7 separate regions of the Homo sapiens genome follow, and all the other regions are linked to region 3. Evidence: promoter capture Hi-C in 16 types of primary human blood cells and fetal thymus (Javierre and others, 2016). All regions are on one chromosome and are shown on one strand. Each heading gives the region's core, a stretch centred on a gene start or on the middle of the fragment in contact. The rest is flanking DNA. Distances are from core to core; before and after follow the strand shown. Region 1 overlaps DAP (death associated protein). Region 2 overlaps DAP (death associated protein). Region 3 holds the start of MARCHF6 (membrane associated ring-CH-type finger 6). Region 4 overlaps DAP (death associated protein). Region 5 overlaps ANKRD33B (ankyrin repeat domain 33B). Region 6 overlaps CTD-2154B17.1 (a long non-coding RNA gene). Region 7 overlaps ANKRD33B (ankyrin repeat domain 33B).

What was found. Contacts are between HindIII fragments. The CHiCAGO score rates a contact against its expected background, and 5 or more counts as called.
Region 1: a contact is called between a fragment that was not itself captured here and the fragment with the promoter of MARCHF6 in region 3, in 4 of 17 cell types (total B cells, naive B cells, neutrophils and 1 more). The highest score is 14.4, in total B cells.
Region 2: a fragment that was not itself captured here is called in contact with the fragment with the promoter of MARCHF6 in region 3 in 2 of 17 cell types (neutrophils and total B cells); the score reaches 7.5 in neutrophils.
Region 4: a contact is called between a fragment that was not itself captured here and the fragment with the promoter of MARCHF6 in region 3, in 1 of 17 cell types (neutrophils). The highest score is 6.1, in neutrophils.
Region 5: a contact is called between a fragment that was not itself captured here and the fragment with the promoter of MARCHF6 in region 3, in 17 of 17 cell types (neutrophils, activated CD4 T cells, naive B cells and 14 more). The highest score is 34.4, in neutrophils.
Region 6: a contact is called between a fragment that was not itself captured here and the fragment with the promoter of MARCHF6 in region 3, in 8 of 17 cell types (neutrophils, naive CD8 T cells, total CD4 T cells and 5 more). The highest score is 10.4, in neutrophils.
Region 7: a fragment that was not itself captured here is called in contact with the fragment with the promoter of MARCHF6 in region 3 in 7 of 17 cell types (neutrophils, total B cells, monocytes and 4 more); the score reaches 23.6 in neutrophils.

What each region holds. Positions count from the first base shown.
Region 1 is chr5:10,733,864-10,737,320 of GRCh38, reverse strand. The region is part of intron 2 of DAP (death associated protein); the gene reads left to right. Among named protein-coding and RNA genes, the nearest start is that of DAP-DT, 25 kb to the left of the region's middle. RefSeq lists an enhancer at 964-1,113. The HindIII fragment of the contact is 1,316 bases long and covers 1,117-2,432 here.
Region 2 is chr5:10,715,233-10,718,625 of GRCh38, reverse strand. All of the region lies in intron 2 of DAP (death associated protein), which reads left to right. Among named protein-coding and RNA genes, the nearest start is that of DAP-DT, 44 kb to the left of the region's middle. The HindIII fragment of the contact is 1,146 bases long and covers 769-1,914 here.
Region 3 is chr5:10,351,671-10,354,968 of GRCh38, reverse strand. MARCHF6 (membrane associated ring-CH-type finger 6) reads right to left here and starts at 1,274. Exons shown (of 26, transcript NM_005885.4): 1 at 1,052-1,274. The coding sequence starts at 1,070. It overlaps MARCHF6-DT (MARCHF6 divergent transcript), which reads left to right and starts at 912. Exons shown (of 3, transcript NR_183261.1): 1 at 912-997; 2 at 3,196-3,298. RefSeq lists enhancers at 38-609, 1,456-1,715 and silencers at 666-1,135, 1,176-1,315. The HindIII fragment of the contact is 4,878 bases long and covers 1-3,298 here.
Region 4 is chr5:10,686,969-10,690,098 of GRCh38, reverse strand. All of the region lies in intron 2 of DAP (death associated protein), which reads left to right. Among named protein-coding and RNA genes, the nearest start is that of DAP-DT, 73 kb to the left of the region's middle. The HindIII fragment of the contact is 2,969 bases long and covers 205-3,130 here.
Region 5 is chr5:10,624,204-10,627,387 of GRCh38, reverse strand. The region is part of intron 2 of ANKRD33B (ankyrin repeat domain 33B); the gene reads right to left. Among named protein-coding and RNA genes, the nearest start is that of ANKRD33B, 62 kb to the right of the region's middle. The HindIII fragment of the contact is 2,727 bases long and covers 10-2,736 here.
Region 6 is chr5:10,774,307-10,777,491 of GRCh38, reverse strand. CTD-2154B17.1 (a long non-coding RNA gene) reads left to right here. Exons shown (of 4, transcript NR_188230.1): 3 at 431-528; 4 at 2,192-2,851. Among named protein-coding and RNA genes, the nearest start is that of CTD-2154B17.1, 11 kb to the left of the region's middle. The HindIII fragment of the contact is 6,699 bases long and covers 1-3,185 here.
Region 7 is chr5:10,647,055-10,650,484 of GRCh38, reverse strand. It overlaps ANKRD33B (ankyrin repeat domain 33B), which reads right to left. Exons shown (of 4, transcript NM_001164440.2): 4 at 1-1,219. The coding sequence ends at 372. Among named protein-coding and RNA genes, the nearest start is that of ANKRD33B, 85 kb to the right of the region's middle. The HindIII fragment of the contact is 8,941 bases long and covers 1-3,430 here.

The DNA of each region.
Region 1 (3,457 bases), core at 525-3,024, 380 kb before region 3:
AGGCTGGAGTGCAGTGGCGTGATCTCAGCTCACTGCAAGCTCTACCTCCCAGGTTCAAGTGATTCTCCTGCCTCAGCCTCCCGAGTAGCTGGGATTACAGGCTACATGCCACCATGCCCAGCTAATTATTGTATTTTTAGTAGAGACAGGATATCACTATGTTGGCCAGGCTGCTCTCAAACTCCTGACCTCAGGTGATCGCCTGCCTCAGCCTCCCAAAGTGTTGGGATTACAGGCGTGAGCCACCGTACCTGGCTCAGCTCCAATATTGTGAGTGCCCTGTGCTGGCAGACAGGGCCCACCACTTGCCAGCAGCAGCTGACCCAGGTGCTGGAGTGCCACGGGCCACAGAGCCCTGCACTGGCCAAAGGCAGAGCCGCAACATGGCCCAGGCACTGAGTGACATGTAGTGTCTGTTTGAGGGGGTAACTGGTTGTCACTGCTTATGGACTGAGAGGCCTCTTCCAGGGAGAAGCTGTAAGGAAGGTACAGCAAGACCCTCAGAATAAAAAGCAGGCCTGATTTCATGGCAGCATAAAATAGTAACAAATAGCCCATCTGCCCTGGGAAGGAGAATCAGGAAGATTCCCGTTGCTGTTGGGCAGTTCTTCCTGTCAGGTTTGTCAGACTGAGACTCAGAGACCAAGTTTGTAGGCAAAATGGGGCATTGCTGAAGTGTCACCGTTTATGTGCCAGCAAGGGAGTGGTAAAAGGAAGCGTTTTGCCTGTGGCAACTTGGGCGGCAGAAAGTTGACAGAACAAGCACAAGCCCTCAAACCCCCTGACGGCAGCCGAGTCTGCTGGCAGCATCCGCTGCGTGTGAAGCCCCATGCAGGATGACATCTGTGCAAGCGAGGCTGCCCAGGGAGGGTTGGCGTCTGGCAGCCTCTCCAGAGGCTGCAGGCTGTCCTAATGGCAGCTTCGAGATCTGCCATTAGGACAAAGCCATTCTCATCTCCACCCAGGTTAGAGTGGGCAGAACTTCCAGGCAGGCTGGCTGCCTCTCCACCAAGAAGCAGCACATTAGTTTTCCTAGTGCTCCCATAACACAGTTGCACAAACTGGGTGGTTTAAAAACAGAAATGTTTCGTCTCACAGTTGTGGAGGCCAGAAGCTTGAGATCAAGGTGTTGGCAGGACCACACTCCCTCTGCAGGCGCTGGGGAAGGTCTGTCGCAGGCCTGTCTCGCAGCTTCTGATAGTGCTTGGCTGGTGGCAGCCTCACTCTGCTGCCTTTGCCTGACGTTCTCCCTGTGTGCCTGTCTGTGACCAAACTTCCCCTTTTTATAAAGACACCTGTCCTATTGCATTAGGGGCCTACCCTTCTCCAGTATGACCTCTTCTTAACTAATTACATCTGCAACAACCCTGTTTGTAGATAAGGTCATGCCCTTAAGTACTGGAGCCTAGGATCTCAACCTCTGTTTCTGGGGGAAACGTAAATTCAACCCACAACAAGCAAGCAGCACCTTGTGCTACTAGGCGTCAGCTGGCAGTACCTGGCTCTGTTGGCATTCCAACAGCAATGACAGCACGATAATTTATTAACTATGATGCTTACATGGCAAATGATTCTCTCTTCCCCTATGCCAGTGTTTACTGTTGCTCAGGCTGAGCACTGCAGCAGCCCATTTTCCTGACCAAGGGCATGCTGTGTACAGTGGTGTGGCCCCAAATTTGATCACACACTCCATCAATTAAGAAAAATGTTTTCTGCATGCATCCCCAGCATATGAGTATTCATTTTAAAAGTATACATGTGCACTGCATTACCACTATATAAGTTATGAAACATATACAAAATGAATGGTAAGATATTTGATAAAGATGAAATCAGCAGTATTTTAAATGTCTTGCTATTTCTAGTGACTTGGTACTATCATTAGCTCATCTCAAGGTCCAGATACCCTTGAGATGGGATTTCTCGTTAATGATTCAGGATGTAAATCTAAATTTCTAATGGGCTTCCAGGCAATTTCAGGTTTTGTTGGGGAGAGCTGCTTCTTGTCACATGTGACTAGGTTGTTGGTATTTGTAACATGGAGACCAATGACGACAGGCAGGAGCGCTTCCCTTTGCTTATGTTCACTTGTGCTTGTATTGAGATTAACTTCGGCCTCCAGAGGTTATTTTTTCAGGAATTTTTTTTAAGCTACTTGTCCATTTTGTAAAAGTTAGCTTAAATTCACTCTAAATTCATCATCTGAGCACAGTTTGAGGCACTTGGGATATATTGAGGATGATACTAGAGAATTGAACTCATTACCCCGTTAACCAGATGGAGTCATGGGTATGTTGCAAGACACTGAAAGCAGATGAAGGGCATGGAGGCCTTTGGGTGGCGGCCCCACGGCTTCCCTGGGAGCTCTCAGGACCAGGAGGCCGGTGAGGGACAGTCTGCCTGGGGGCCACATAGTAAATAGTGGCAAAGCTTAATTCATTTTGTTTCTTTAGATAAAAAATAAATGTAAATAGAATATATCTTCATGTTTAGCTCATTTTCCCAGCTAAATAATTGCCTTCTTAAGCACATGGGACTGCCTTAATCATGGATTAATTCATCATGGCCCAATACCACTTTTGTTGTTGTATATAATAGAAATTAAACATTTCTCCCAACACCTGTGGATATGTGTATTTTAGCATGATCAGTAGAAATGACGCTGTGAGTATTTTAAGGAGTTTTGCTCAGAGTCGCCCTAGGAACACAGGGTAATAGCACTGTCAGGATTCCCAGTGAATCTAGCCTGATTCCTCCTGTCCTGGAGGTGGATGCCAGAGAAAGGCTTGAGGCTGGCAGGCAGTGAATCAAAGCCTCGCCACAGAGCGGCACAGCATATGGGTACCCATATGTCCGAGATCCTGGCTGAACTCCTTAGATTTGGGGATAAGAAAGAAAGTGCGGGCGGCCAGGCTTTCCTCTAGGGCCAGTGGCTTCTGGTAATAGGCTTTGAGACAGTATTTGTACAACTCTGGCTACATAACGGATGTGGAAACCAGGTGTGATTTATGAGCTTCCGAATGGCCCCTTCCTGCTCTCTCTCCCTCCACAGGTCCCAGCCTCCTTCTAAGATTGCCACACTCCTATCTACACCGGCAGGACTGTTTTGATCTGATGGAAGGAGGGAAGAAAGGAAATGGGGCTATCAGTTCTCCCTTCCAGGCTCTGCTCTGTGTGTCTGCACTGCAGTCATCCTCTTGGAACGGAGGCTCCTTTGTTTTTATGGTGTGACTTGAAAGGTTGCACTATTTATCAGGAGTGTTTTCTTACTACATAAACATATGAACTGAATTTAAATCAACTCTCCAGTGCTTGGATTTTATAGAATGAAATATGTAATAATAACCACATGAAAGTAAGAGCCCTTATTGAGTTTATTACATTAAAATGACTAGGCCTGAAGTTTTTAAGTACTTTTTATCTAGATAAGCCCTGTTGACTTCAATTGTCTCAGAAG
Region 2 (3,393 bases), core at 92-2,591, 360 kb before region 3:
ATTCCCCAAGATCCACCTGTCTTCTGCACAGGCCAAATGGGAGAGTTGAACAGGGATGTCATGGGAGTCACCACCCCTGCGTCTTTCAAGTCCTTGATGGTGGCACTGACTCCGCAGTCCCTCCAGGAATGCAATATTGTTTTTGATTTACTATTTTCCTAGATAGAGACAACTCTAATGGCTTCCATTTGGCCTTTCCCACCATAATAGCCCTCACCTCATTAGTCAGGGAGTCAATGTTGGGGTTCTGCCACCTGCTAAGTATGTTTATGCCAATTATGCAGCCTGGCACTGGGGGATTGACCACAGGATGAGTCCAGGGACCCGCTGGACCCACTGTAAGTCAGATCTGAGCTAAAGCTCCGTTAATGACATGACCTTCATAAGCCCCTACTTTAACTGAGGACCACAATGATGTTTTGAGTCCCCTGGAATCAACGTCAGCTCAGAGCCAGTGTCCAGTAGTCCCTGAAATGTCTGATCATTTCCCTTTCCCCAATCCACAGTTACTCTGGTAAAAAGCCAGAGGTCACCTTGGGGAAAGATGGGAGAAAGATTTGTTGCATAAATTGTTGGTAATGTAGTAGGGTCCTTCCTCAAGGGGACCCAGCCTCCCCTTCATTCAAGGGGTTCTGGGTGTGTAAACTGACTCAAGTCTGGAAATTGATTGAGGAGCCGTGATTCTGTTTTTCTAATTCAAATTAGTCTTTTATCCATTTCACCTAGAAGCTTTCCGCTTGTATAAATTAAGTAGGAATGCAGTAAGCTTCCTATCAATTTCACTTCTAGGAACACTGTGATTAATTAGCCAATGCCATAGCTCTACACTAGTCAGACTATTCTGATTGCCTCATTGCCTCTGCCGTTCATTGTCGTAGCTGCACCCACCTTGCCTTTGATGGTCGAGTGCTGCCACTTGGCCCCTGCCACCTTGGTATCTAATTAGCAAACAGAGGTATTGGGGTGGATTCTGAGGAGAATCAACATTATCTTGCCTGGCAACTGCCTCAGAAGAGGTCATCACTGTTCCCTCAGGCAGCGCAGGGTTTATCTCCTCAGACAGAGGTGCAAAGGCTGGTGGCAGCATGGGTCGGGAAGGGGATGTTGCCACTACTGGGAATAGGGAAATTCCTTCTGGCAAAAATGGTTCATCAGAGTTTACAAACTCAGTGTGCCCAGCTTCATCAGGGTCCTCCCAAATGTCCCCATTCCAAGTTGCAGGGTCCCATTCTTTTCCAATCAATGCCCTCACTTTAACAGTAGACACCTGGCGAGGCTGTGCACGAACCTTTTGTTTCAGGTCAGCCACTCACATCATAAGGGCTTGTGTCTGTTTTTCCACAATTTCAGCTCTTTCTCTACAGGAGGTAAGACTCTCACTCAGGGCAATCTTAGCAGATTTGAGGTTCAGTATCTGCTTCTGAAGCCCGGAGACAGAATCCCTGAGTTCATCATTTTCTTTCATCAGTTTGTCCACTGAACTTGGGAGCAACCAACAAGCTGCATTATGTTCCTTGGTTCTCCACATATGGTCAAAGGTATTATGTATAGAGTGAGTGAACTCCTTGCTTCTCACAAGCGGTGAATCAGGAGTGCCAAATGCATTTATTTTGCATAAGTCTAAACAGTTTCCGCCTAGGACTTATCAGTATTCTCCATACTATTAGAAGCAGAGTCCTTAGCATTTTGGGGTCTAATCATATTAAGCAACCAACTCCAGAAACCCCAAAACCAATGAAAGAACTCCATCCTTAATATTCTGTTCCTCTACAACCACTCCTGGTACCAAAATCTGTATTCCTCAGAGTTCCCTAGAGGGACAGAACTAATAGGTAGATACATACATATAAAGGGGAGTTTATTAAGTATTAACTTACACGATCACAAGTTCCCAGAATAGGCTGTCTGCAAGCTTGAGGAGCCAGGAGAGCCAGGTCCGAGTCTCAAAACTGAAGAACTTGGAGTCCTGGAGTCCAATGTTTGAGGGCAGGAAGCGTCCAGCATGGGAGAAAGATGTAGGCTGGGAGGCTAGGCTAGTCTCTTGCTTCATGTTTTTCTGCCTGCTTTATATTTGCTGATGGCTGATTAGATGGTGCCCACCCAATTAAGGGTGAGTCTGCCTTCTCCAGCCCACTGACTCAAATGTTAATCTCCTTTGGCAACACCCTCACAGACAGACACACCAGGATCAATATTGCATCCTTCAATCCAATCAAGTTGACACTCAGTACTAACCATCACAGTTAGTATAGGGGTGGAGGGAGAGAAAAAATATTATTTTTTCTTACTACCCACAGATATCTAGACTTCGAAGGAGTTTACTCTGCACGATAGATGTGTTCCTGAAAAGTTCATTGAAAGCACAATTTCTCTTAGTCGCATTTTATCTTCTTACCAGCAGTTTCAGGGCTTATCCAGCTTCATTCTGCCCGCTGTTTCTTCACCGATGGAGCTCAATGTCTGTGTCCCCTGTCACGTTCTCATCACTTTGAAAATGGGAAATGATTGGCAGGCAACCCTAGGACACCACACTTCTAAAACTGGCCACAGCTATCAGCTAAAGGGAGCAATGCCAATATGAGGTGGGCCCACATTGTGTGAGATGGAAATTAATGAAAGCAGCCCTGGGTTGATACTCACATCCTCTGCTGGAGAAATTAACAGCAGTGTTTATCTCTGCTAAATCTAGGCATGGTGTATTATCGAGAGGTTTCCTGTCAGGTCCAATTTGGGATCATCAAATTAATTGTTACGTGTGACAAGCTGACATGCAAAGAAAGCAATAAATACCTCAGTGCCAGCTCCTTGTTGGAATTCCATGGTGAGTTCCCAGGGCCAGGGGGCATGAATGATAAATGAGGCTAACAGCCTCCCTGCCTACAGCAGCCTGCCCTTTCTCTCCGTGGCATCGGAAGACTCACCCCTGTTTTCCTTGAGACCTTAGTTAACTCACTCACTTCCTAACAACTGCGTTAATTCTTCTTAGCATTTTTCTTTTGCTTCTGAGAGGTGCTATGTACCTAGAAATGACCCAGCAGCTTCTTCAAAAGTACCTTTGCTGGGTCTTCAGGAACTGCCTGGTAATTGACCCACAAGACATTGCCAGTTTGCCTGCGTTTCTCAAGCTCAGAAGATTTTGCTGTAGGAAGCCCCCGGCAGCTCAGGCTTCTACTCCATGTCCCCAAGGGTGGAGTGGTGCAAGGTGTGGCCAGGCACTGTTTAGAACTGGAGTGAGTGGCACCTGGAGGTGGGTGGGGCATCAGCCTGATGGGTTGGAAGTTGCTCCTGTTGCTGTCCTGGGCCCTGTAATCTGGCTGCCATTCCTATTACTTCACAAATACTCCCTAGTGCAAGTACAGCAGCATCCTTCCAAGGACCAAACCCAAGGGACAT
Region 3 (3,298 bases), core at 25-2,524:
TTAAAGGCAAGACTTCTTTAAAAAAAAATAAGTCGTTATCAACTCATTACATAGATAATATCAAACTTTTTTCACTCATTATTGCACTCCATGACGGCGTTTGATAATTCATTTTCGTTTAAAATCGCCAAAATCGCAACCCATAAGGTTGAAAGACGCTCATACCCCCATAAATATACCTAAAGTAGAAAAGCATTTGCACGATAACCGGAACATCAAAAAAAGCAAAATTTAGTAATTTCCTCTATAAACTCACCACTCATTTAAAAACACAGCTGGTTAAAAATAATCTACTACCTTCAGTGGGTAAGAAAATGCGTTTGAAGAGACATAAGGTGTGGACGTTTATATCTTAAGTATTCATTTTACAAGGGTCAGTTTGTTCAATGTAACCGTATCCAAAACACAAGCAATCGCAAAACAAAACAAACAGAACCCTGCTTATAGGTGTCAAGGATTTAAAACCAAATGGATCGCAACAAAAGAGCCTCCCCGTTTAGTAAACAGATTCTCGAGCGGCAGGCAAGCCGAGGACCAGGCTTTTCAACAGGGGTCAGCTCACTCCACTCGGCCGTCATCTGGCGGGGTATTTTTCGCGAAGTTTCAAAGTCAACAAAGAAGTTCTGTCGCGAGGGGGTAGGGCCTGGCGAGCAATAGGCAGAAGGACGTAAAGAAAGACAAAACCCAGTGGGGGAAGGGTGCGGAAAACGCCCCCGGACGGCAGCGACAGAGGCCCCCTTTTCTGGGCCAGCGCGCGACGGCGGGGACAAGGGAGGCCACGCCGGCCTGCAGTAGCCCCGAGGCCCCGACCCCGGCCCCGGCCCCTGCCCGGCAGGGTCCCCGCCCCCCTCGGCGGCGCGGGCGGGAAACGGCGGGGGGCGCGCAGAGGGTCACCTTCCGCTCCCCGGCCCAGAGGCCCAGCGGGTGGACAAACGGCCCAGGCGTCCGCCCCGCCGCGATCCAGCAGCCCACCTCGAGCGCCGCGGACCTGGCCGGGGTACGAACCCGGGCGCCGACGCAAGGGCTCGGGCGCCGCGCGTCGCCGACTTACCTTCCTCCGCGGTGTCCATCTTGTCTGGGGGGGCGGCGGTGACGCAGCCACGAGGCTCCCGCGGCCGGGCGGGGAAAGAGGGAGGGGAGAGGAGGAGGGAGCCGGGCCCGGGCAGGTGCGTACGCTCAGGTGCGAGAGAGGAAGCGAGAGGAAGGAGAGGGGAGAGGGAGAGGGAGAGAGGCTGACAGAAAGCGAGCGACACGGGAGGGGGAGGGGCGGGAACACCTAGGGGCGAGGCCTGGGCGGGGCGCCGAGGCGGAAGGGGCGGGAGCTCCCCAACGACAGGCGCTGTCACTTCCGGCGGCCGCGGCGTGCACTGTCGGTCGGCGGCTAAGGAGGGGAGGCACCTGCATCTGGGGCGCGGCGAATCCTCGCGTGCGCCAGGCCGCCTGGGGTAGTCGCCGAGACTGCGCCGGCCAGCGGGGCCGAAACCTAATCAGGAGCTGAGCTTTGATGGCGGCTTCTGGAGGGACAAAGAAGGCGCAGAGCGGTGGGAGGAGGCTGCGAGAACCTAGCTCCCGCCCCAGCCGACGTGCGAGACAAAGGCCCCGGCGCGGGGCTCTTCGGAAGGCCGGGAGGTTCCTGTGACAATGCGAGTCTGCGCCCCACGCTCCCGCACCGTGATGCCGAGGCCAAATGGCTAGAGTGGGCCCAGGCATCAGCATTTCTGTTTGGCAGCCGGGCAGTTGTGGTGCACGTTTTGAGGAACTACTAAAGCCTGCCTGTGATGAAAAAGGCAAAAGCTGACTTCACCAAAATTACTCCCAGGGAGACTTCTGCATTTGGCTGGAAGGACATTTGAGTAAACCGCTGAGGCTGGTGGTTGAAACATAATCCTCTAAGGGAGATCGGTTCCGATACCCTGAGTTAGGGACGCTTGCCTGGGCAGAGCTAAGGGGAGAATGATCAAAAGCCAAGCTCTGTCCCCGTCAGCACGTCACCCTCCCTCACTGTAATCCCTGACTGTTTTCTCTAAATGAAGAATTATTTAGAGAATATAAATTAGAAGGGCCGCCACGTCAGAATTGCCTGAGTGGGAGCAGTCTTTCCAGCCTCGAAAAATGTTTAAACAATATGCAGATGACCTAGCACAAATAAAGAATGCTAGCAACCGCTGTTATGTGTGAGCGGTGGAATTGGGAGGGCTCTTCCCCCAATCTTCATCAAACAGAGTAAGGTTTAGAATAAAAATAATGAAATACAGTCTTTCAAAAAGAGCAGCGCTTGACTAATGTTACTGATGTCACTCATGTTACTCAAGGGAGGAAAGAACTCAAACTCTACATAATAATACCCACTGATTTCAAGGGCTGGCACGGAGAATTAAGCAGACCGCCATTCTTTATATTTGTTTTTTTGTTGTTGTTTGCTTATGATTTTTTTCTTTCTTTTTTTTTTTTTTTTTTTGAGAAGGGGTCTCGCACTGTCACCCAGGCAGGAATGCAGTGGCGCGATAATGGCTCACTGCAATCTCACTATATTGACCAGTATGATTTTCAACTCCTGTCTTTAAGCGATCCTCACGCTTCGGCCTCCCAAAGTGCTGGGGTTACAGACATGTGCCACTATGCCCTGCCTAAATATGTTTATATATACTACCGCCAAAGAAACAATTTGAAGACGATCTTTCCCCAGCCCCTCTCCTTCTGATCCAACTCCAAGAGCTCACCCTCCCTGTAAGACCTGTAGCAGAGCACGTATTGGCCTGCTGATACTAGGGGCAAAGACCGGGCCGATCAGATGTTACATGGCATAAGGGCGAAGGATTCTGAAAGAAAGACTGAGACTTGCTGGAGGAAGTACTAGTAGTGCCAAGGGCAGGTATGTGACCCTCGGAGCTGCAGAGCCAGGTTAGGATGAAGGGAATGTGTGTGTATGGGGGGCGTGGAGGAAGCCTTCCTTTTGTATTTAGGTGCCTTCCCTTGTGATGTTCAAAGGAAAGTTAACCTGTCAACCAGTTTTCCCTTCTGCATAGTAATTCCTTCTGGAATTGCCCTAACCTTTTCGCATTCAGACTTTAGGCGTTAAATATAAGAGTAATAAACCAACATTTGTTGAGTCCCCACTGTGAGTCAGGCACAAGTTCTCACAACAGCCCTTTGAATACATGAATCAGTCACACCTCTCTTGGTTGCCATTGACAGGAACTCAACTGTTAGGCAGAAGGGAGGAATGTACTGTTGATATGGACAGACTCCAAGAAGGGGAGGGACTGCTGGGACTACTAGAACGAGAATGCCTCTGCCC
Region 4 (3,130 bases), core at 440-2,939, 330 kb before region 3:
AAGGACCTCGCCTGCGGAAGTGCTGGACACATGGGGTTCTTTTCTTTCAGTGCCTTATTTCTTACCAGTGCCAAACAGATGGGGGCGCTGGAGCACAGCAGTGCAGGATGAAGTCTCAGGCCTTCATGTTGTTCTTCCCCAGGTTAATTAGGTGGAATGCACACTGTTTTGGTTGTGCCCCAAGAGACTGCTCTGACCTAAGCTTGCCACTGAGTGACATTCCCTGTCCCTGCTCCTCAGCTCGGAGTCAGCCCTCAGGGTGTGCACAAGGGCAAGTTCACGGCCTTTCCATCCTGAGTGAGTCCCTTTGACTGCGGCATCAGACCCTCAGTCTTGCCATCACTCAGCCAAGTCGCCAGCACCACATCCAGCAGAATGACTAGCCACTTTGTATAGGATGCAGCACAAAGGACACCAGTCCCTGGCTCATCGCCACACCCGGTGGGCCTCACCTCACCCCTCGCCACCCAGTGGTTGGCAGAGGCACATTTCTTATGCTGAGCCTAGCATGATTTTCATTGACATCCTCTGTCTTTATGAGCAGAATCCACCAAGCCACTAAAGCTCAGCAGATTCAGTCATGACTCAGCACAAAGGAGCTATCTCCGTGAATTTGGGGTTTCACAAGGACAGCGCCATCTGTGAATGACTCCTGTGGACTCTTAGACGCTGCAACCTGCAACCATGGCCCTGGACACTCCTGGAATGAGCTGGGCCTGTGGGGGGAGGGTCATTCTTACTGCTGGGGGTCTCCTTTAGCCCCCAGGGTCTCCATGGCCATTCAGCAGTTGCGATGGGACAGTGTCTTGAGCAGCTCACATGGGAGTGAGGTGCTAAATGTGGGTTTAGGAAAGGAAAGAGCGTGCCCTGGGAGTCAGAGGCTGGTTTCTAGGCCTCAGCTTCCGTGTGTGTTTTCCAGCACTCAGGCTAGAGCAGAGCTGTCATGATCTCATATCATCACTGTTCACACACATTTCTCCGGGTACATACTCGAGGCATAGAACCCCACCCTTGTCGTGATCAATGCAGGAGACGCCCAGAGGACAGCACCTCTGAGGAGCACCGAGGGCAGGGAGGAAGGGCGGGACTGTGGCAGGCCCCTGGGCTCCAGACTCCCGTCCTCAGTGCACACAGGGGACCAGTGCTGGAGACAGATTCCTGATAGCCAGGTCCCCCGAGAGCCTCACGTGGCAGCTACTACACAGTGGGGCTGGGCTCAACCAAGGAGCCTGTCAGGAACACCCAACATGGAGGCCTCTCCAGGCTGGCGCCCTACTGCTGGATGGCGCCTCTGCGTCCTGGAGTTCCACTCCACCTCTGCAAAGGGTGGCGTACTCACAGGGTAGACCACCCTCATTGCTGGGGATCTCCTTTAGCCTCCAGAGTCTCCATGGCCATTCAGCAGTTGTGATGGGACAGTAGTTGTGTGTGTGTGTCAATCTTTATAAATACACACGTACAGTAATACAGAAGTACAAGTGATTTTAACTTGTTTTGCTTGTCTGCGTTTCAATAATGAATATGTACAGGCAGACCTCAGAGATATTGCAGGGTCTGCTCCAGGCCACCATAATAAAGCAAATATTGTGATAAAGTGAGTCCCACAACTTTTTGGTTTCACAGTGCATATAAAAGTTATGTTTACCCTCCACTGTAGCCTATTAAGTGTACAGTAGCATTACGTCTAAAAAACAATGCATAACTTAATTTAAAATTTTAAAAATTTAAAAATTCTGTATGCTAATGATCATCTGAGCCTTCAGTGAGGCTCAGTCTTTTTGTTGGTAGAGGGTCTTGCCTCAGTGTTGATGGCTGCTGACTGATTGGGGTGGTGGTTGCTGAAGGTTGGAGTGGCTGTGGCAGTTTCTTAAAATAAGACAACAGGCCAGGTGTGATGGCTCATGCCTGCAATCCTAGCACTTTCGGAGGTCAAGGTGGGTAGATCACTTGAGGCCAGGAGTTCGAGACCAGCCTGGCAAACGTGACAAAACCCTGTCTCTACTAAAAATACAAAAATTAGCCAGGCATGGTGGTGTGTGCCTGTAATCCCAGCTACTCTGGAGGCTGAGGCATGAGAATCACTTGAACCTGGGAGGTAGAGGTTGCAGTGAGCAGAGATCACACCACTGTACTCCAGCCTGGGCAACAGAGTGAGACCCTCTCCCTCTGTAAAAAAAAAAAAAAAAAAAAAAAGACAACAATGAAGTTTGTGACATAGAACATAGATCAACTCTTCCTTTCAGGAAAGAAAGATTTCTCTGCAGCATACAATGTTGTTTGATAGCATTTTACCCATGGTAGAACTTCTTTCAAAAATGGAGTCAGTCATCTCAAACCCTGCCACTGCTTTATCAATTAAGTTTATATAATATTCTATATCCTTTGTTGTTATTTTCAGTGTTTACAGCATCTTCACCAGGTGTAGATTCCAGCTCAAGAAATCACTTTCTTTGCTCATCCATGAGAAGCAACTCCTCATCCCTGAGGATTTTAATCACAAGATTGCAGCCATTCAGTTCCATCTTCAGGCTCCACTTCTAATCCTAGTTCTCTTGCTGTTTTCACCACATCTGCAGTTAGTTCCTCCAGTGAAGTCTTGAACCCCCTCAAAGTTACCCATGAGGGTTGGAATCAGCTTCTTCCAAACTCCTGTTAATATTGATATTTTGACCTCCTCCCATGAATCATGAGTATTCTTAGTGGCATCTATAGTAGTAAATTCTTTCCAGAAGGTTTTCAATTTACTTTGCCCAAATCTACCAGTGGAATTACTTATTTCTTAAATAATAAGACTTGAAAGTCAAAATTACTTCTTGATCCATGGGTTGCAGAATGAATGTTGTTTTAGCAGACATGAAAACAACATTAATCTCCTTGTATACTTGGTCTTGGGTGGCCAGGAGCATTATAAATCAGCAGTAATACTTTGAAAGGAATCTTTTTTTCTGAGCAGTAGGTCTCAACAGTGGGCTTAAAATAAGCAGTAAACCTTGATGTAAACCAATGTGCCGTCATCCAGGCTCTGTCATCCCATGTATAGAGCACAGACAGAGTAGATTTTATGTAATTCGTAAGGGCCCTAGGATGTTTGGAATGGTAAATGAGCATTGGCTTCAAATTAAAGTCATCA
Region 5 (3,184 bases), core at 124-2,623, 270 kb before region 3:
AAACAAGCTTCACGTGCTGTATCCCATCACCAGCTCAAAGAGACCCCTGGCGTTTCCTCACTTTACCACGTCCATGCTATTCTGTTAAAGCACAACAAGGAAACAGAAATAAACACACAACTCTATCCATGGGACTTCTTGTTCCTTTCTTTGGTTATCTTATTTTATTTTTGTTAGTGGAGCGGTGGTGAAAGTTGAAATGACTGGCTAAATGAGACTTAGGGATTACATGGGGATTTATTTTCAAACGTTCTCTCCATTTACAGACCTAGTACAGATTTGGCTGTATTTTTATTGTGCATTAAATAGCCGAGGAAATTAGACTTTTTAGAGAACACTCAAAAGGCAGATGAAGGCATTTGCATCCGAATTCGTACTCATAAATGCTGTGTCCTCCAGAAACCCAGAGCTTCCAACTCTCAGACAACCAACCCAGTTGCCATAGCAAATAATATAAACATATGGTTGCTTTAAGATTGCGCTTCACAATGCTGATTCTGCTTAGTGCGACTGCTGTCTACACAAGCCATCCTCCATCACTGGTTTGGCACGGGCTTGTGACGCAACCCTGGTTGGTGAGATGGCAACGATACTCTGCTGGAGCCTTCTGGAAATGTTTTCCTGTCTTATAAAGGGAAACGCCGACAGGGATTTGCTCCTCTTCCTTGATGTCCCTGAGTGTTGCAACGTGAAGCCGTGGCACTTCTAGCAGCTGGGGCCACCTTGGGACCATGAAGGAAAAGGCGAATGTATTTCTGAGAAGTGGCTCTAGGTCCCAGCATCACCCAGCTACTCAGTGAAGCAACCCTGCAACATCGCCCGCAGATGTCTTGTGTTGCAAGAGAAGGCAGTGTCCTTGTGGTTGAAGCCAAAAGCATCCTAACAGGTACTAGGCTCAAAAGAGAGCTGGGGAAATACAACTGAAAACCAGAGTTTTGGTTCATTTGAGTAGGGAAATACTGAAAAGACTGATCTCAGCCAGGGCTTGCAAGAACACTCTTGGACACTCAGGGGAAAGGAGAAATCGCCACAGCTTTCTAAAGACCACTTGGCAGCTGCATACACTTAAAACAGGCACAGCCCTTGCTGAAGCAATTCTGTTCTAAGAGTGTGTCTGCACATTGCTTCTCCTCTTCCTTGCCCTGCTTTCGGCCTAGGAAGCTGACCTGCACCAACAGCACCTGCCCAGTTTCCGCCCCAATGAGGTTTCTGGGTTGGCTCAGCAGGGGACCAGGGTGGAAGGAGCGGGACATCTGGCCCTGCCTCCCACTCCGGCCCCTGGCTGCGGTTCTAGGCCGAGGCTGCCTCTCGGGTTCCAGCTTCTTGGCCTGTGTCACTCGGGTTCTAGGCCGAGGCTGCCTCTCGGGTTCCAGCTTCTTGGCCTGGGTCACTCTCTGCAGAGTCCCTCCCCTTAATCCTTTCAATGTTGGTTCCCTTAACTCTACCCTTCCCCCCGTAATTGACAGGCCCTCATCAACTCCTCTGTTCAGCCCTCTGAGACCACCTGTCACTCAACATGCTTCAAGCTGCCAGGATCCTAACACGCTGTCCTCAGAGATGCACCCCAGATCCAAAGACTTCACTACAGCCTTGCTGCCGTTGATTAACTCAAAAGCCCACCTGTCCAGTAACTGGGACAGTTAAGTATACCACGGTTCATGCATTTTACACAATATCCTCTTTTCCAACAAATATTTAAGAAGCAAGTACTTCATGTTCAAGGACTGGCCTAAGAGCCGGGTCCACCACAGTGAGTGAAGGCCAGTCATAACGCAGCCTCTCAAATTTGAAGTCTTGGTGGGGAACCGGGCATGAGCCACACATCCCCGTGCAGGAAGGCAGGGCTACGAGCGCCTGGCAGGGCTCAGGGACACCGACACAGCAGGAGCTTCTAGATTAATAACCATGTGAACAAAACCACTAAAAACACAGTCTCAACAGCACTAGCCCAGTCATGTGAATACAAAGCGCACATACATACGTGTGTGTTTGGAAAGGACTGAATGAGGTCTGAAGAGGTGACTCCTGAGTGCTGATAAGGGAGCTGGAATATTTGGAAGACAGAGAAGGGATCTTTTTCTTCCTCCCTGATAATACTTTTGTAGTCATTTTTGGCTGTAAGCAAATATGCATGGACAGCTTTTGAAATTAACAAATCATCAAAGAAATAAAACTGGTTATGAAATTGATTAAAATGGGACATCACCTGATTGGGCCTAAACAGCCTCTTTGGCAAAACAGCACAGGAAAGTCATGAACACATGCTCACCTGCCTTCCTCATTTTCACTTTAATTCCGTGATGCCTCTGTGTCTGTCTGACAACATCTCTCGTGGGGTCTGTGACTCTGCTGGTCTTCAGTGCCCACTGAGAGGGGTCCTTTGCCGTCATCAGGCATAAAATCTTCAAAGCTCTCCATCCTCAATGTGGGGTCCCTGGGCCAGTGGCATCAGCCTCACCAGGAAACCTGTTGATCTGCTCATTCTTGGGCCCCACCCCAGGCCTATTCAAAGAAAGACTCCAGGGGCAGGGCCTGGCAGTCTGTGTTTCCACCAGATCTGTGTTAATGCTCACATGAGCCAGCCCAGGTGATGCTGACGCCGGAGGCGCAAGATTGGGAGCCAGTGTCTAAGGAAACTATGCCCATGGGGACAGGGGCAGCCCCTGGAGGTTCAGAAAGAAATTAGGGAAAATCTCTTCGGCACATTGAGGCAATTAAGACACACACAAGGAAGCTTTTTAATCTGTGTTTGTTTAAATGGTGTAAAGTCCCTCTCCCCTCTGCCTCCGTATGCAACCTCAACAATTCAGTCCCAAAGCCTCAGGCAGCAGCCTAGGTTGGGTGTCCAGGGATCAGAGCCCAGGCCAGAGGGTGGGTGCACACAGTGGCGGCCACAGAGAGCTCAAGCAAATCAGTAAGTAGGGGAAGATAACAAAAGCCAGTAAAAAAGAAAAAAAAGGCCAGGCCCGGCGGCTCACGCCTGTAATTCCAGCACTTTGGGAGGCCAAGGTGGGCGGATCACTTGAGGTCAGGAGTTCAAAACCAGTCTGGCCTACATGGTGAAACCCCGCCTCTGCTGAAAATACAAGAAGTAGCTGGGCACGGTGACTGGCGCCTATAATCTCAGCTACTCGGGAGGCTGAGGCAAGAGAATCGCTTGAACCTGGGAAGCAGAGGTTGTAGA
Region 6 (3,185 bases), core at 561-3,060, 420 kb before region 3:
CAGGGGACTAATGTTGGACAGAAAGTCACCACCTGGGAAATTGATCTGGGTCTTCACCAGCAGATAAGTAAGCTGGACATTCCTACTGTCACTGCCTCTGCCTACCATCATGCAGCTGAAAGTAGCTCTGCCTGAGTGTGTGTATACCTGTGTGTGTATTTATGTATGCGGAAGGCCTGTGTGTGTGTGCCTGTGTTTATGTGTGCATTCATGCATGTGACTGTGTGCATGCATGTGTGCAGGTGTACACCTATGTGTGCCCATGTGTGTGCATGTGTGTACCTATATATGTGCATGTACACCTACATGTGTGCATGTGTGTGCGTACATGCCCTGTAGCTCCTGCAAGCAGTTGTCTGAAGCAGCCTCTGTCCTCTGCCACACACATATTTTCTCTTTCTGCCTAACACATCTTTCTCTTCCATCTCAGCCCATCAGAACAGAGCTGGGCCTTCACTAGTCTGGACGATCAGCTGCTCAGAGCCTTGCATACAGTGGGAGGCTGAGGAATGTTCTTTCTAGAAGAATGTGAGTATCAGGGGCAACTCCAACCACATCTTTTCCCTTCTCTTGTCTGCCTCTCCTTCCTTACCTTTCAAATTCACATCTGGGAACCTTTAAAGAGAAAAAGACGCCTGGACTGGGAGGCTGGTGGGAATGAGGAAGGAGGGAGAGCCGTTGCTGCCTGTTTGCCTAGCAGTGGTAGAGAGTTTGTGGACTGGCCGTGGATGTCAGAGCCTGGGGGCTTCTCTAGGATCTTCTGAAGGGCCTCTTCCTTCTCACCAGTGAAAACCTAGACTGATCTCCAAGACCTGAGCCTTTGTATAGCTTTTGGGTTTTGTCAGGCCTCTGCAGCTACTGTTTAGGCCATTGGGGCAGCAGCCTGAGTCACCACTCAGGGTTAGAGATGAGGGCCAGAGCCCTGGCCTTCTCTCTGTTCCCTGAGGCTGTGCTGCACCAGCCTAACATGTGCTCACAGTTTGCCTGTGTTGTTCTATAGTCTTTAAACATAATAGCTTCTTTAAACAAGGGCCCACTGAGGCAGGCCCCTCATATTCCCATTTCACTCTTGAAGAAACTGAGGTATGAATAGGTGAAGTAACTTGCCCCAAATCTTACAGCCAGCAAGTGGCAGAAGCAGAATTGGAAGACAAAGTTCCAGGTTCCCAGCTAAATCTCTAACCTGCCACTCACGGGCCGGAAGCAATGTTTCCGTTTATTTGCTAGTTTCCATAATCTCTATTGTGAATCTCTCTTCAATCAGTTTTGTGTCTTAAACGTAACCAAAGAAATCCAAACTTCCCAGGCTAAGCTGAGGATCTTGGTGTGGAGTCCACTCCTGCTGTGGGGCCTCTAACTCTTGCTCCACTCCATGCCCTGACTTGGTTGCAACCAGGAGATGGCTCCCTGTGCAGACTCAACAGGTTAAAGCTGGAGGAGCCATCCATCTCTGAACACAGCCCCTTGCTCTACCCTGGGGGAATCGAAAGCCAAGAGAGTAGGAGATTCATCAAGGTAGAATGCTGGATTCAGGCTCAGCCAGCCCGTCTCAGGCCCATCTTGTGTTTGTCCCTCCACCTGAGGGTGCAGACTGGGCTCTGCTGGCAGGTGGAGAGTGGGTATATGGGAGCCCCTAGACAGGGGACAGATCATTGCTGTTGGCCACTGGGAGGAGCTGCAGCAAGAAGCACAGAAGCATGTCTTAGAGCCATTCCAGGGCATGATGGAGCTGCAGATAGATACCCACATAAGTGTGGGCATTGGCAAAGCGATGTGAACACTGGGGCTGGGGTCTCTCTGTTCTCCCCAAAGACCCAAGACCTCGCAGAACTATGATAAGGCTAGAGGAAGACTTATTTTTATTTCATTTTTTTCTTTTTTACCTCTAAGGTGATGCCTCGTGCAAAGCTGGTGCTCAAAATATATGATTATGGATGGATAGGTCAACAAAGACATAAACAGCAACAACCCTGGCTGCTCGGCCCTTTTGCTCTCGTCATTGGCTTCTTTTTCCAGAGCATGCATCTTCTAATAGGTCTAACCCCAACAGTGATCAAATGGGACCTCTGTTCTATTCCTTTCTTAACTGTAATCATGAGTTTCACACGGCTGTCATTTTACTGCCTGCTAGGAAAAGGGAATATGTTTGAATTTTATAAGTTTCTGAATTTCATAATTTTTTTATTTTTAGAGGTGCTCCAGGCTGACTCCATACCTCCCACTGAATGACAATTGTTCTAAAGGTAGACATTCTTATTTCATCATCAAGAAAAGCACTCTGTAGTGAACAAGGGCACTCACGCAATTGGATTCATGGAGAGATGTTTGTTTTTCTCCCACTTGTTTACTGTTGCTGGTGTTAGATCAAGTCTGGCCTTTACTATTCCATTAAAAAATGACCATTTGTGATTAGATATTTACAAAAATATATTCAGAATGATATATTTCAGATATTACATTTTTTCTAACAGTTCGTTTTAGTTTTGAATAGAAGCCTTAAAATACTTGGCCAGGTGCGGTGGCTCACGCCTGTAATCCCAGCACTTTGGGAGGCCGAGGCAGGCGGATCATGAGGTCAGGAGATCAAGACCATCCTGGCTAACACGGTGAAACCCTGTCTCTACTAAAAATACAAAAAATTAGTCGAGCGTGATGGCGAGTGCCTGCAGTCCCAGCTACTCGGGAGGCTGAGGCAGGAGAATGGCATGAACCCGGGAGGAGGAGGCTGCAGTGAGGCGAGATCGCACCACAGCACTCCAGCCTGGGTGACACAGTGAGACTCCATTTCATAAATAAATAAATAAATAAATAATTGGAAAAGTAAGAGTTAAAAATAAATCATGGAAAATCATAAAGTGATTCATTATCTGAAATACTTTCTGAGTACAAAGCACTTTGTTTCCTCTTCTTTGCTGATACCTGCATGTGAGCTAAAATGTGAAGGAAGGCATTTGTGATCTGATTTTGTGTCTACAAATGTCTATGCCTAACCTTGAGCTGCTGCCTTTGTTGGTGTGTGAAGTGATGCAGCAGAGCAGGGGATGGCAAACCTTCTGCAAAGGGCTAGAGTCAATTTATTGTACTTTGGGGGCCAAATGTGTCTGCCACGACTCCTCAACCCCGCCATTGTAGCCAAAAAGCAGCAATGAACAATATGTAAAGAAATGGGCATGACTGTGTTCCAA
Region 7 (3,430 bases), core at 823-3,322, 290 kb before region 3:
GGCCCTATCACTTGTAAAACGTTGCAAATTTGATAAATAATGATTAAAAATACAAAATTACGGAGAAAACGCCCTTTGATAAATTGATCTTTAAAAAAAATCTTAATTGAGGTTCTCTAAAGGGAGCCTTTTAGGCAACGTGCCCGCTAGGTGTACTGATTGCTAGGAGGGCTGGCGACAAGCGAATCCATGTGGCTCCCTCAGCCCTCTCTTGGAAGCAGCCTGGACAAACAGCCTGGAAATGCGCGCAGCCCCGTGGTCCATGGAGCGGAAGTGGTGCGATGCGCAACGGGGCCGCCTCCTTCTCCGCGCCCAGCCCTGCGGCCCCGCCCCGGCCCCAGCCCCGGCCCCAGCGCCAGGCACACGGGCCCTCACGTCCTCTTCTTCCAGGGCGCAGTGCGCCTCTCCTTCTGCGCCTCGGCCTGGCGCTTCTTTTCGGCCTCCTCTGCCTTCCTCTTCTCCTCCTTGGCCTCCTTGTACCGCCACTTGGGGATCTGCAGGTGGCCGCTGTCCTTGGTGCTGCCCTTCCGCGCCGGCCGCTCGGGCTGGAAGGTGGGCGCGGGCGCCTTGCTGACTCGGACCCGGGGCACCACCACACCGGGCCGCACGCTTCTCCGCCGCAGGCGCTGCAGGGGCAGGAGGCTGGCCTTCCGCGGGGCGGGCGCTGCGGGGCCCCGGGACCCCAGGGCGGGAGGGAGGCCGGCTCTCGGGGAGCCCTCCCGGGAGTCCGCGTCCTCCTGTCCGGTCCGCCCGCGCTGCCCCGCGCCCCCCACCTCATCCTCCTCCTGCGCCTGGGGGCCCCGTGCAGCCCGCGCCGCCAGGATCTCCTGCACCGCCAGCCGCCTCTTCCCCACGCTCGGAGGGCTCTCAGGGCACACGGTCTGGCACACGATGGCCACGGCGGGGCTGTAGAGGCTCGTGGTCATCCGGACCATGTGGTCCAGGACGCCCCCGTCCTCCGGGCCCCGCACGGAGCGCGGCGTCAGCACGGACAGCACGCAGTCTGTGAGCCTCTGCAGGCAGTTCTTGGAGCCCGCGGGCTTCCGCGCCGCTTCAGGGGGCGGCGGCAGCTCGGGCCGGTACTTCTCCCAGAACTGCTCCGGGCAGGGGCGCTCCAGCAGCCTCTGCATGAGACGGACGGCATCCACGCGGCCCGTGTAAGTGGCCCACTCCTGCGGCGACATCCCACGGCGGGGGTCCCTCGCGTGGACATCCGCCCCTGCAAAACGCAAAACACAAACAGAAGTGGGTGGCGGCAACAAGGACTCTTCCCTCCCAGGCAGAGCCTGGGGCAAAGGCAAAACTGCCCCCACCCCCCACCCCTGGCCCCAAGCCTCCTAACAGACTGCACCTAGTTCACTCTGCGAACCCTGTGCTCATCTGAGCGCCGGAAGGCGGGCCTGGAGTGCAGTGGCGGGAACACGTCCTACTGTAGCCTCGACTTCCGGGGCTCAAGCCATCCCCCCAAGTCAGCCTCCCGAGTAGCTGGGGCTACACCACCGCCCAGGTAATTTTCTGTAGAGATGGGGCCTGGCTATGTGGCCCAGGCTGGTTTCGAACTGCTGGGTTCAAGCAATCCTCCCACCTCCGCCTTCCAAAGTGCTGGGATTACGGGCGTGAGCCACCGTGCCCAGCCCAACCTGCCTTTTAAGTGCTCCATTGATTATCTGTCCTGAATAAAACCCCGCCTGAATTCAGCACCTAAATTACAGAATTTTTTTTTTCGAGACAGAATTTCACTCTTGTTGCCCAGGCTGGAGTGCAATGGCACAATCTCCGTTCACCGCAACCTCTGCCTCCCGGGTTCAAGCGACTCTCCTGCCTCAGCCTCCCGAGTAGCTGGGATTACAGGCATGTGCTACCACGCCAGGCTAATTTTGTATTTTTAGTAGAGAGGGGGTTTCTCCATGTTGGTCAGGCTAGTCTCGAACTCCCAACCTCAGGTGATCCACCCGCCTCGGCCTCCCAAAGTGCTGGGATTACAGGCGTGAGCCACTGCGCCTGGCCAAATTACAGAATTTTTTAAAGAAATAAGATCCTATAGCTTTCCATCAATGGAGAGATGACCAGACAACAAAGCTGCCTTGCATACTTGAATGCTGTGGCTAGAAAGTTCTAAAAATATGACCAGTAACAGTCACTTGCAAAGTGGTGGCACCCCAGCTGTGGTCTCACTCTTGAGGACTGCCATGGGTCCTGGACTGTGGGAAATGGGTGGTTCCTTCGCTTCTCCCACTGCGGCCTAGCTGGCTGGGGTCTGTCTACCTTTAACCGATGGTGGGCTTTTCCAGGATAGAAAAATTCATTTTTGTTTGCTCAACACGTTTCATCCTGGTGGGTAGGGGGCATGAATTTTTAAAAGGCTTGTTGCAAAAAGAATGGCAGTCACAGTGGCTGTGGGCTAGTAACAGAGAGAGGGTCTAAGACTTGGGTGTCCTAACCTCAGTCTAATGTACTTCCTACCACCTGGCAGTCCTGGTGTGATGGTCAGTTTTAGTTTTCTATGTCAACTTGGCTAGGCTAGAATACCCAGTGATTTAATCAAACATGGATCTAAGTGTTGCCCCAAAGGTATTTTGCAGCTGTGGTTAACATCTATAATCAGTTGACTCTAAGTCAAGGAGATTACCCTTCATAATGCGGGTGGGCCTCGCCCAATTAGTTGAGGGCATTAAGAGCAAAGACCAAGGTTTCCTGGAAACAAAGAAATTCCACCTCAAGACTGCGGCATCTACTTACTGCTGCCTGAGTTTCCAGCCTTCGAGCCTACCGCACCAGTTTCAGACTCACCAACCCCCCAAACCACACAGCCAATTCCTTAAAATAAATCTCTTGATATCCACATCCTATTGGTTGACTGATAGGTCCCCTTACACAGTCTCCCTGACACTAGTCACTCCCTTAATAAATCTCCCCAGTCCACCCACTGCCCCCAAATATTGCAAAGTTAAACTTCAACTCAACTTGATGAAATCTGCATAAATTTCAATGTTGTAGTATAGAAATTAATACGGAATTGCTGTTCAATTAATCTTGGTCCAATCTCAGTCCCACATACTGTTAAAAATCATTGAGGGGCCAGGCATAGTGGCTCACACCTGTAATCCTAGCACTTTGGAGGCCGAGGAGGGCAGATCTCCTGACGTCAGGGGTTTGGGACCAACCTGGCCAATACATGGTGAAACCCCACCTCTACTAAAAACACACAAAAAATTAGCTGGGCGTGGTGGCAGGCACCTGTAATCCCAACTACTCAGGAGGCTGAGGCAGGAGAATCGCTTCAACCCGGGAGGCAGAGGTTGCAGTGAGCCGAGATCGCACCACCGCACTCCAGCCTGATTAACAGAGAAAGACTCCATTTCAAAAAAAAAAAAATCATTGAGGATTTCAAGTCCCATTAGTCATATCTCCACCAGCAAAGCAACATGGA